Linked DNA regions of Homo sapiens: all the other regions are linked to region 3. Evidence: promoter capture Hi-C in human tissues and cell types (Jung and others, 2019). All regions are on one chromosome and are shown on one strand. Each heading gives the region's core, a stretch centred on a gene start or on the middle of the fragment in contact. The rest is flanking DNA. Distances are from core to core; before and after follow the strand shown.

Region 1 (3,030 bases), core at 502-3,001, 69 kb after region 3:
GAGACAAGGTCTCACTCTGTCACCCAGGCTGAAGTGCCATGCCATGATCATGGCTCACTGCACCCTAGACTTCCCAGGCTTAGGTAATTGTCCCATCTCAGCCTCCTGAGTAGCTGGGACTATGGGCTCAAGCCACCATGCCAGCTATTTTTTTTATATTTTTAGAGATGGGATTTTGCCATGTGGGCTAAAGTGATCTGTCTGCCTTGGCCTCTCAAAGTGCTAGGATTACTGGTGTGAGCCACCATACCTGGCCCATGCCACTTGAACACTTTGCTGCTTAGAATTTTTTTTTTTTTTTTTTTGCCAGATACTCTACGATATCACTGTCAAGTTTAAACTTCCATAGATCCCTAGGACATAGATGAAATCCAGCCAAGCTCTTTGCTAAGGCATAACGTGTGACTTTTGCTCTAGTTTCCAATAAGTTCCTCATTTCCATCTGAGACCTCATCAGCCTGGACTTCACTTTACATATCCCTATCAGCATTTTGGTCACAATCATTTAACCAGTTTCTAAGAAGTTCTAAACTTTCCCTCATCTTCCTGTCTTCTTCCAAGTTCTCCAAACTCTTTCAACCTCTGTCCATTACCTAGTTCCAAAGCTGCTTCCACATTTTCAGGTACCTTTATAGTAATACCCCACTCCTTGGTACCAATTTTCTGTATTAGGCCATTCTCACATTGCTATAAAGAAGTTCCTGGCCAGGTGCGGTGGCTCATGCCTGTAATCCCAGCACTTTGGGAGGCCAAGGTGGGCAGATCATGAGGTCAAAAGTTTGAGACCAGCCTGACCAACATGGTGAAATCCTGTCTCTACTAAAAATACAAAAATTAACCAGGCGTGGTGGCACACGCCTGTAATCCCAGCTACTCAGGAGGCTGAGGGAGGAGAATTGCTTGAACCCAGGAGGAGGAGGTTGCAGTGAGCCAAGATCACGCCACCACACTCCAGCCTGGGCGACAGAGCGAGACTCTGTCTCAAAACAAACAACCCCCCCCCCCCCAAAAAAAAGCAACAACAACAACAACCAAAAAACAAATTCCTGAGACTGAGTAATTTATATAGAAAAGAGATTTAACTGGCTCAGGGTTCTGAAAGCTTTACAGGAAGCATGATACTGACATCTGCATGGTTTCTGGGGAGGCCTCAGGAAACTTAGAATCATAACAGAAGGCTAAGTGGGAGCATGCACATCACATGGCCAGAGCAGGAGCAAGGTAGGAGGAGGTGTCACACACTTTTAAACCAGATCTCACTATTGCAAGAGCAACAACAAGCATTTATGAGATATACACTCCCGTGACCCAGTCACCTCTCACCCAGTCATCTCCAATACTGAGGATTACAATTCACCATAAGATTTGGGCAGGGACACATATCCAAACTATATCAGCCCCCAATCTGGCTCAGAACTCAGGACATTTTAAACCAATTGCCAGTTGATGGCTGTGCCAAGAATCAACTTCCATTCAACTGGCCAACCTTTCATGAGTGGCTAATTGAAATTAACTGAAAATATGCCTGTCTGGGCTGATGCTTTAGTGGTTTAATGAATTAAATCTGTGACCCCAACTGTCTCACTGAGTTAATCTGAGCAACTATCTGAGCAACCTGGAGTAAGGCATACTTGAGAATGGGGAGTACCTAAATAAAGCCTATTTAAATAACTTGGAAGTCAAACCTGATGAAATGAATACTTGAATTTAATTAGACACAGGCATAATGTATTCAAGGTCGTGAGTGAACATTGTACTATAGAGGAATGTAAACATGAAAACTAGCACCATGAGCAGGTAGATATATGGCTCCTAGTATTAGGTTGGTGCAGTAATTGTGGTTTTTTGCCATTGAAAGTAATGGCAAAAACCACAATTACTTGTGCACCAACCTAATAATAGAATGGGAAGTTTCCTGATTACTTGCAACAATTCAGACATATCAAAAAGTTAAGAATATAAAATCATGTTACATCTGCAAAAATTTTTTTTAACCTTTGAGATCAATATTTTAGTATTATAACAGCAGAAATAGAATATGAGGGAAAAGTTAAAAGAGCTGATGGAAAAGTTGAAGGACAAAATTACCGTTCTAGTGAAGTAAAAAGATACACCTTTTGAAGGGGAAAAGAAACAGAGGGCAATGATGTGTGATCTGTAAATAATGTGTAAAACAATAGTAAAGGTTGAACTTCTGAGATATAAATCTCAGAAGTTTTAAAAAGAGACAGATTTGAGAATTAAAAATTATTACCACGTGTAATCTCATTGAGAACAAATCTTTTTTTTCTTTTTTTTTTTTTTTTTCTGGCTCCAAAGATCCTTTACTGAGATCCACTTGAAACACTTTGGTCCTTATCTTGTTAACTGAGTTGACAGGCTGATGGTTGATCTAGGTAAAGGTTTCACGGTAGCCTATAATATATCAAAACAGGTTCCTGAATAATGTATGTGAATGTCGTCAGGGTCTCTGTCCCATCTTCTTCAGGGTTCGATTAAGCTCCTCGAATCTGTGGATCTGACGGATGAAGAAATTCCCATAGCGCCTGGCGACCTTGGTGTCCATGATGTGGATCATGTCCTTATCAATGTAGAAGTCAACCTCTGAGGCTGACTGAAATTCATCATCCAGGGTTGTGATGCTGCTGGTCCACACCAGGTTCTTCAATTTGTGTTTGAAGACAGGAAGCTGGATCCTGAACTCCTGCTCTGTGAGGTCCAGGAAGCCAGCCAGCTTGGCCACAGGCATGGTGGTGTAGAGCTTGAGGAAGCTGCGGATGGTTGAAAGCTGGGCCTGCTGCTGTACTTCATCAGAAAACACCTTCGGCTGCTGCAGGAAGGGCTCTTTGTGGTAGTTGGGGTGCACATTATCGTAGTTGGGCACTACAGGCGACAGGAACTTGGGGCAGAAGTAACTGAAAAGTTCTTCATAGACTTCTGGGTCACCTTTCTGCATGCACAGCATCTTGTTGCTGTATTTATCCCACCGCTGGAGGTGAATGCTCTCATCAATACTCATGGGGTACATCG
Region 2 (3,436 bases), core at 880-3,379, 110 kb before region 3:
TTACTATTTTACTTTTGTAAACTGTCTTCTAAATATTTTTATATTTTATATTTTCACTTTTCACTCATACCACCTGAAACACTAACCATTACAACCCCTGCCTTGTGGGTTCAAGTGGTAGAAGAACACCATTTAAAACTTGATATGTTTCATACAAATAAAACCATTCCTCTGACATTTTTCTTCTCTTTTTTTCTTTTTCTTTTTTTTTCCTTTTGAGACAGAGTTTTGCTCTTGTTGCCCAGGCTGGAGTGCAATGGCGTGATCTCAGCTCACCGCAGCCTCCACTTCCTGGGTTCAAGCGATTCTCCTGTCCAGCCTCCCTAGTAGCTGGGATTACAGGCATGTGCCACCATACCCAGCTAATTTTGCATTTTTAGTAGAGACGGGGTTTCTTCATGTTGGTCAGGCTGGTCTTGAACTCCCAACCTCAGGTGATCCTCCCTCCTGGGCTTCCCGAAGTGCTGAGATTACAGGTGTGAGCCACCACGCCTGGCCTCCTCTGATATTTTTCTAGAACACTGTTAACTACTAGTTTTCCTTGCCCCCTCATTCTCTGCATGTCCCATTTCTAGATTAGCCATTTTTATATTTATATTATTTATTTTATATATTTTTAGTATCATTTTTATATCTAATGTTTTATGTCATTATTTGTGTCTATTCTATATTCACTGTGCTTTATGGTTATTTGTAACCTCTGTGTTGTTTCAAAGTACGTATTTGTAAATTGCCCATTGTGTGTTCTAAATTTCCACCCTACTTTCCACATTATAAGGTTTCATGTTTATTTTCTTCTAGCCAAAGGGCTGGAGGAGATTAACACTTTTTGGATTACTTTATTCCAGGAAACTAAGTCAACTACATATAAAAGCGCGTATGTATGTAAGTGTAATTTCATCACAAATATCACAAGACTCATAAGTTGTGGTTATTTTTTCTTATTTCTAGAAGTCTGCAAAGTGGATGATCAACTAGAGCACTGTCAGGAAATCCAGGACAGACATATCTGGCAAGCTCCATATATCAACAATAGAACACTGACTATAGAGAGAGGTAACATAGTAGGAAAAGTGTTTGATTTCAGCATACACCAACTTCCTTCCATAAAAATACCTTGTAAATGTGACTTATGTGGTATGAGTTTGCAATACATTTCAGATTTATTTAATAGTAAGAAAAACTATTTAAGAAAGATGCCTCATGACCTCAGTGCATATGGAAAACTATTCCTCAATAGTAACCATGAAAAAACTCATATGGAAGAGAAACCTTATGAGTTTATTCAAAATGGAAAATGTCTCAGTCATAAGGAGGACTTCATTTCATATCTGAGAATTCAAAATTTAGAGCAATCTTTTGAATATAAGGAATGTGAAAAGGATTTCTATGGAAAGGCAGTTTTCATTACATATAAGCAAGCTTACACAGGAGCGAGTCCTTGTGTACACAATGAATGTAATAAAGTGTTCTGTAATAATTCAACTCTCATGGTCCATAAAATGTCAGAAAAAAGAGAAAACTTTTATGAGTTTAATGAATATGAAAAAACCTTTGAGAAGTCCCCTTTCTTGAAACATAAAGTTCATTTGGAGGTGAAACACTATAAACATATTGAAAGTGTAGGAATTTTAACAGATCAAGCTTTCCTAACACAAGAGAGAAAATATTTGAAAGTAACAAATCAGGGGAAGCTTTGTGCGAGAAGTCAGTACTTAATGTAACTCAGAGAACACACAGAGGAGAGGAAGTCTGTGGATGTGAGCCATGTGTAAAACCATTCTATGAAAAGTCAAAGCTAACCAAACATCAAAGAATCCATACAGGGGAGAAACCCTATGAATGTAATAAATGTGAAAAATGCTTTTCTAGGAAATCTCTCCTCACTCTACATCAGAGAGTCCACACAGGAGAGAAACCCTATGTAAGGAATGTGGGAAATGCTTTTCTAGGAATTCACACCTCATAATACATCAGAGAACTCACACAGGAGAGCAACCCTGTGAATGCAAGGAATGTAGAAAAAGCTTCTATCATAAGTCATATCTTACAGTACATCAGAGAATTCACACAGGGGAGAAACCCTATGAATGTAATCAATGTGGAAAAACCTTCATAAGCAACTCTGTTCTCACAATACATCGTAAAACATATACAGGTGAGAAACCCTATGAATGTAATGAATGTGGGAAATCTTTCTCTAGGAGTTCATATCTTACAATACATCAGAGAACTCACCCAGGCGAGAAACCCTATGAATGTAAGGTATGTAGCAAAACCTTTTGCCACAAGTCTGATGCCACTAAACATCAGAAGACTCACCTAGGGGGAAAACCCTATGAATGTACTCAATGTGGGAAAACTTTTAGTCGTAACTCAGGCCTAAAAGTACATCAGAGAACACATGCAAAGGAGAAACCCTATGAATATACTGAGTGTGGGAAATCCTTCTCTGAGAAATCAGTCCTCACAGTACATCAGAGAATACACACAGGGGAAAAACCTTATAAATGTAATGCACGTGGAAAAACCTTCTACAATAAATCAGACCTAACCAAACATCAGAGAACACACACAGGTGAGAAGCCCTGTGAATGTAAGGAATGTGGGAAATTCTTCTCTAGGAATTCATACCTTACAATACACCAGAGAATGCATACAGGAGACAAACCCTATGTGTGTAAAAAATGTGGGAAAACCTTCTACCATAAGGCAGACTATACAGTACATAAGAGAACACACAGAGGGGAGAAATCTTATTACTGTAATAAATGTGGGAAAACCTTTATTTGCAACTCAGTCCTCAAATCACATCAGAGAACACACACAGGGGAGAAGCCCTATGGATGTAATGAGTGTGGGAAGTCCTTCTCTGAGAAATCAGTCCTTACTGTACATCAGAGAATACACACAGGGGAAAAACCTTATAAATGTAATGAATGAGGGAAGTCCTTCTATCATAAGTCAGATCTCACTAAACATTAGAGAACACATACAGTAGAGAAACCCTATGAATGTAATCAGTGTGGGAAAAGCTTCAGTTGCAGCTCAGGCCTCAAAGTACATCAGAGAAGTACAAGGGAGAAACCCTATGAATGTAACCAGTGTGGGAAACCCTCTGAGAAATCAAGTCTCATAGCACATCCAAGGATACACATGGGAAAAAGCTTATAAATGTAGAAATGAGAGAAATCTTTCTCAAGCAATTCATACCTGAAAATACGTAGGAGAAATCAAATAGGACATGACCCCTGTGAATGTAAAGAATTTGGCAAACCTTTTACCATAAGTCATCTTCCAAAGTAAATAAGAGAATAGACGGGGAGGAGCCAAGATGGCCAAATAGGAACAGCTCCGGTCTACAGCTCCCAGGGTGAGCGACGCAGAAGACGGGTGATTTCTGCATTTCCATCTGAGGTACCGGGTTCATCTCACT
Region 3 (3,111 bases), core at 70-2,569:
GCATCACATCCCTTGTTGTTTTTTTTGAGACAAGGTCTCACTTTGTCACCCATGCTGGAGTGCAGTGGTGCCATGATGGCTTACTGCAGCCCGGGGCTCAAGTGATCCTCCAACCTCAGCCTCCTGAGTAGCTGGGATCACAGGTGCCTGCCTACATGCCAGGCTAATTGTTATTTTTAGTTTTTTGTAGAGATGGGGGTCCCACTATAGTGCCCAGGCTGGTCTTGAACTCCAAGGATCAAGTGGTCCTCCTGCCTCCGCCTCCCAAAGTGCTGGGGTTACAGGTGTGGGCCACTGTGCCTGGTCCACTTGTCAATTTTCAAAAATTTTTACTCTTTTAGTGGTTTAAATGTTTAAGTATTGTATACATGTGAGATTTTATCATGTGTGATCTATGTATATCTCTACATTCCAAATTGCTCGGAATGACATGCTCTTTGGAATACTCCATTCTTTCCCTCACTGTTTTGAAATGCTGTATCTACTACACATTAAAGAATACTCTTAAGCTGTCTTATTTCCATGGAGCAGGTGCCAAACTACTTTGAATAGAGCAATATTATATAGATAGATGTAGATAGATACAGATATTCCTTAGGCATTTTTTTCCTGCTTTTTAAAATGTATACTGGCTGTTCATTTGGGTTTTTACTTATTCTAGATAAAGTTGAGAATGCTTTTGTGAAGTACAGAATACACTAAAGATCAAAGAGAAAAAATACATAACAAAAATTTGTTGATATTCTTTTAGGAATTTTGTCTTCCTAAGAAAGGTACAGATAGACTAAAAGTATTTCCATTTAGTCAAGCAATTTTAATGTCACAGAGGAAATCATACGTGACATTTATTTTCTTCTTTCAGATTATGTCTAGTTCCTTACTGAGCTACAATTTCCGTTTATTGCTTTAACCATTTTGATGAAGTAGCTTTCCGGCCGCACCTTCCCCTTTTTTCCCCCGCTCCCAAAGAACCGCTGATAGCATGAAAGTCTTTTAAACTGTATGGACGAGATCTATTTCCTAACATTTAAACGGAAAATGACACGCAGCGGTCCTTTCCTTGAGCGTCTGCGTCTAAACTGCCCACAGACCTCCCCCGCAGTATATCCCTTTGGAGTGCCCCGGGGAAAGCCAGGGCTGCAGGCAGTTCCAGCACCAACTCAGACCGCATCTGCCCACTGCCTAGCGGGGCACTTCTCTACCAATCCGAAGGGCTGCTCGCCCGGCCTCACGGGAAAGGTAGTTTCCAGGTAGGGCGCCAACAGCATCAAGCTGTGCGCGTGGGCTCTGCGCATGCCTCGTCCGCCGGCTACGTCTGCGTTTCCGCCTTTCCTTTTGTTTTTCTCAGGTTTTGCGTGGGAGGCGGTCCCGGGATTTCAAGGGTCTACGCGCTTTTCTATGGCGAATGCAACCCGACGAGGGAGTGGGGTAAGCCCCAGTGGGTTGGGCAGGGAGAGAGAGGGAGCCCCGCGCGACTCCTGGGGCGGGCGGCAGGGGGCCGGTACCAAGTGGTGGGGAGGAGGCCCGGGGACCTCATAGGGGAAGGCGGGGACGGCGGGGCTGCAGCGTGTGGGCCACGACGCTAGGCCGGTTCCTCAAAGGCGCGGCCTCTGTACGGAGCAGGGTACGCAGCGTGTGTCGCCCCATTTGTGGGGGCCGCGGAGGAGGGCATGTGCGCTTGCGCAGTCCGCGCGCTGAGCCTTGCGGGAGGGGCAGTTCTCTTGTCTAGCCTGTGCGCGTGTGCTAGGGCGCCGCGGTACGTGGGCGGGGAAAGGCGGGTGCAGTCGCCCGCCAGACCGGCAGACTCGGTTGCACGTATTGCATTCATCCTCTTTAGGTTCCGAACTGACCTCCAGTCAGGTCCATCACTGCATCTTGGTATTTGCTGTTCCTCTGTCCTGACTTGATCTTGCACTCAGGAAAGATCTTCAAGAATTACCTAATTTTGGCCTGGCGCGGTGGCTCTCGCCTGTAATCCCAGCACTTTGGGAGGCCGAGGCGGGTGGATCACCTGAGGTCAGAAATTCGAGACCAGCCTGACCAACATGGTGAAACCCCGTCTCTACTAAAAATACGAAAAGTAGCCGGGCGTGGTGGCGCATGCCTGTAATCCCAGCTACTGAGGCGGAAAATTGCTTGAACCCGGGAGGCGGAGGTTACAGGTAGCCAAGATCGCACTATTGCACTCCAGACTGGGCAACAAGAGCGAAACTCCGTCTCAAAAAAAAACAAAAACAAAGAATTACCTAATTTTGCCTCATTTGTTAGAAGAAAAAGATTTTTTTTGTTTTTTTGTTTGTTAAGGTCACTGACTTGTTCAGGATCACAGTTAGTAGGGAAGACTAAGTCACATCTCCTGACCCCTAAGCCAGTACTGTCTACTTTTCCACACACATCAAAGCAAGTTTAAAATATCCCTTTGAGAAATAGCAACAAAGTTAGATGAAGAAATTAAAACTGATTTTTTCTTTGAAGCACTGCCGCTTATGGCTTTCTGTGGAGTCACTCACCAGAGGTTAAGTAACATTACTGGGAAAATAGATAGCTTAGTCCTATTTTTTACAATGGTTTTAGTGTTAATGTTCCTTCATTAAATATATTGTTAACTTGTTTGGCCAATATTGTCATTATACTTTTTTTTGTGAACACCGAGGGAGATTGAAATCCTTAGGAAGCAAATATTTACTTTCACCCGGTAAAAAATCTTGTGCCCAAGAGCTACATAATTATGTTGGAGTTATTCTTTCACCATTTCTACCGCCTATTCCGAAGTGTTCTTCCACCATTTCTACCCCCTATTCCAAAGTGTCAGAGGACATTGATACTCTCCCAGAGGAAGCATTTTACCTAGTGGGTGTGTATGGCTTCTTAGGGCGGAAGAATCCAGGAGTTGCCAGGCAGGCCAAATCTTTCATGACCCCATTCCTCTTTTTCTAACTCAGCTGTATCTTCAGAGTTGTCTCCGTCTTTCCAAGAACAGAACAAAATGAACAAGGTAAGTTGTTTATTAATTCCCTACTTTATTTTGCAGTGGACTTTGTGAGATTTGTAAGAGTCGATATGGTGTTTGTTTTTTTTTTTTTTTTTTTTTTGTGAGACGGAGTCTCACTC

Evidence for each region. Contacts are between HindIII fragments. The study calls those that stand out against the background at their distance.
Region 1: a contact is called between a fragment that was not itself captured here and the fragment with the promoter of ZNF33A in region 3, in 6 of the 25 tissues and cell types used here (H1 embryonic stem cells, adrenal gland, dorsolateral prefrontal cortex and 3 more).
Region 2: a contact is called between a fragment that was not itself captured here and the fragment with the promoter of ZNF33A in region 3, in 2 of the 25 tissues and cell types used here (mesenchymal stem cells and thymus).

What each region holds. Positions count from the first base shown.
Region 1 is chr10:38,077,595-38,080,624 of GRCh38, forward strand. It overlaps the pseudogene EIF3LP3. Among named protein-coding and RNA genes, the nearest start is that of ZNF37A, 15 kb to the right of the region's middle. The HindIII fragment of the contact is 6,422 bases long and covers 1-3,030 here.
Region 2 is chr10:37,893,651-37,897,086 of GRCh38, forward strand. It overlaps the pseudogene ZNF33CP. Among named protein-coding and RNA genes, the nearest start is that of ZNF248-AS1, 38 kb to the left of the region's middle. The HindIII fragment of the contact is 3,993 bases long and covers 134-3,436 here.
Region 3 is chr10:38,009,356-38,012,466 of GRCh38, forward strand. ZNF33A (zinc finger protein 33A) reads left to right here and starts at 1,320. Exons shown (of 5, transcript NM_006954.2): 1 at 1,320-1,428; 2 at 2,943-2,995. The coding sequence starts at 2,987. RefSeq lists an enhancer at 1,843-2,022. The HindIII fragment of the contact is 9,281 bases long and covers 1-3,111 here.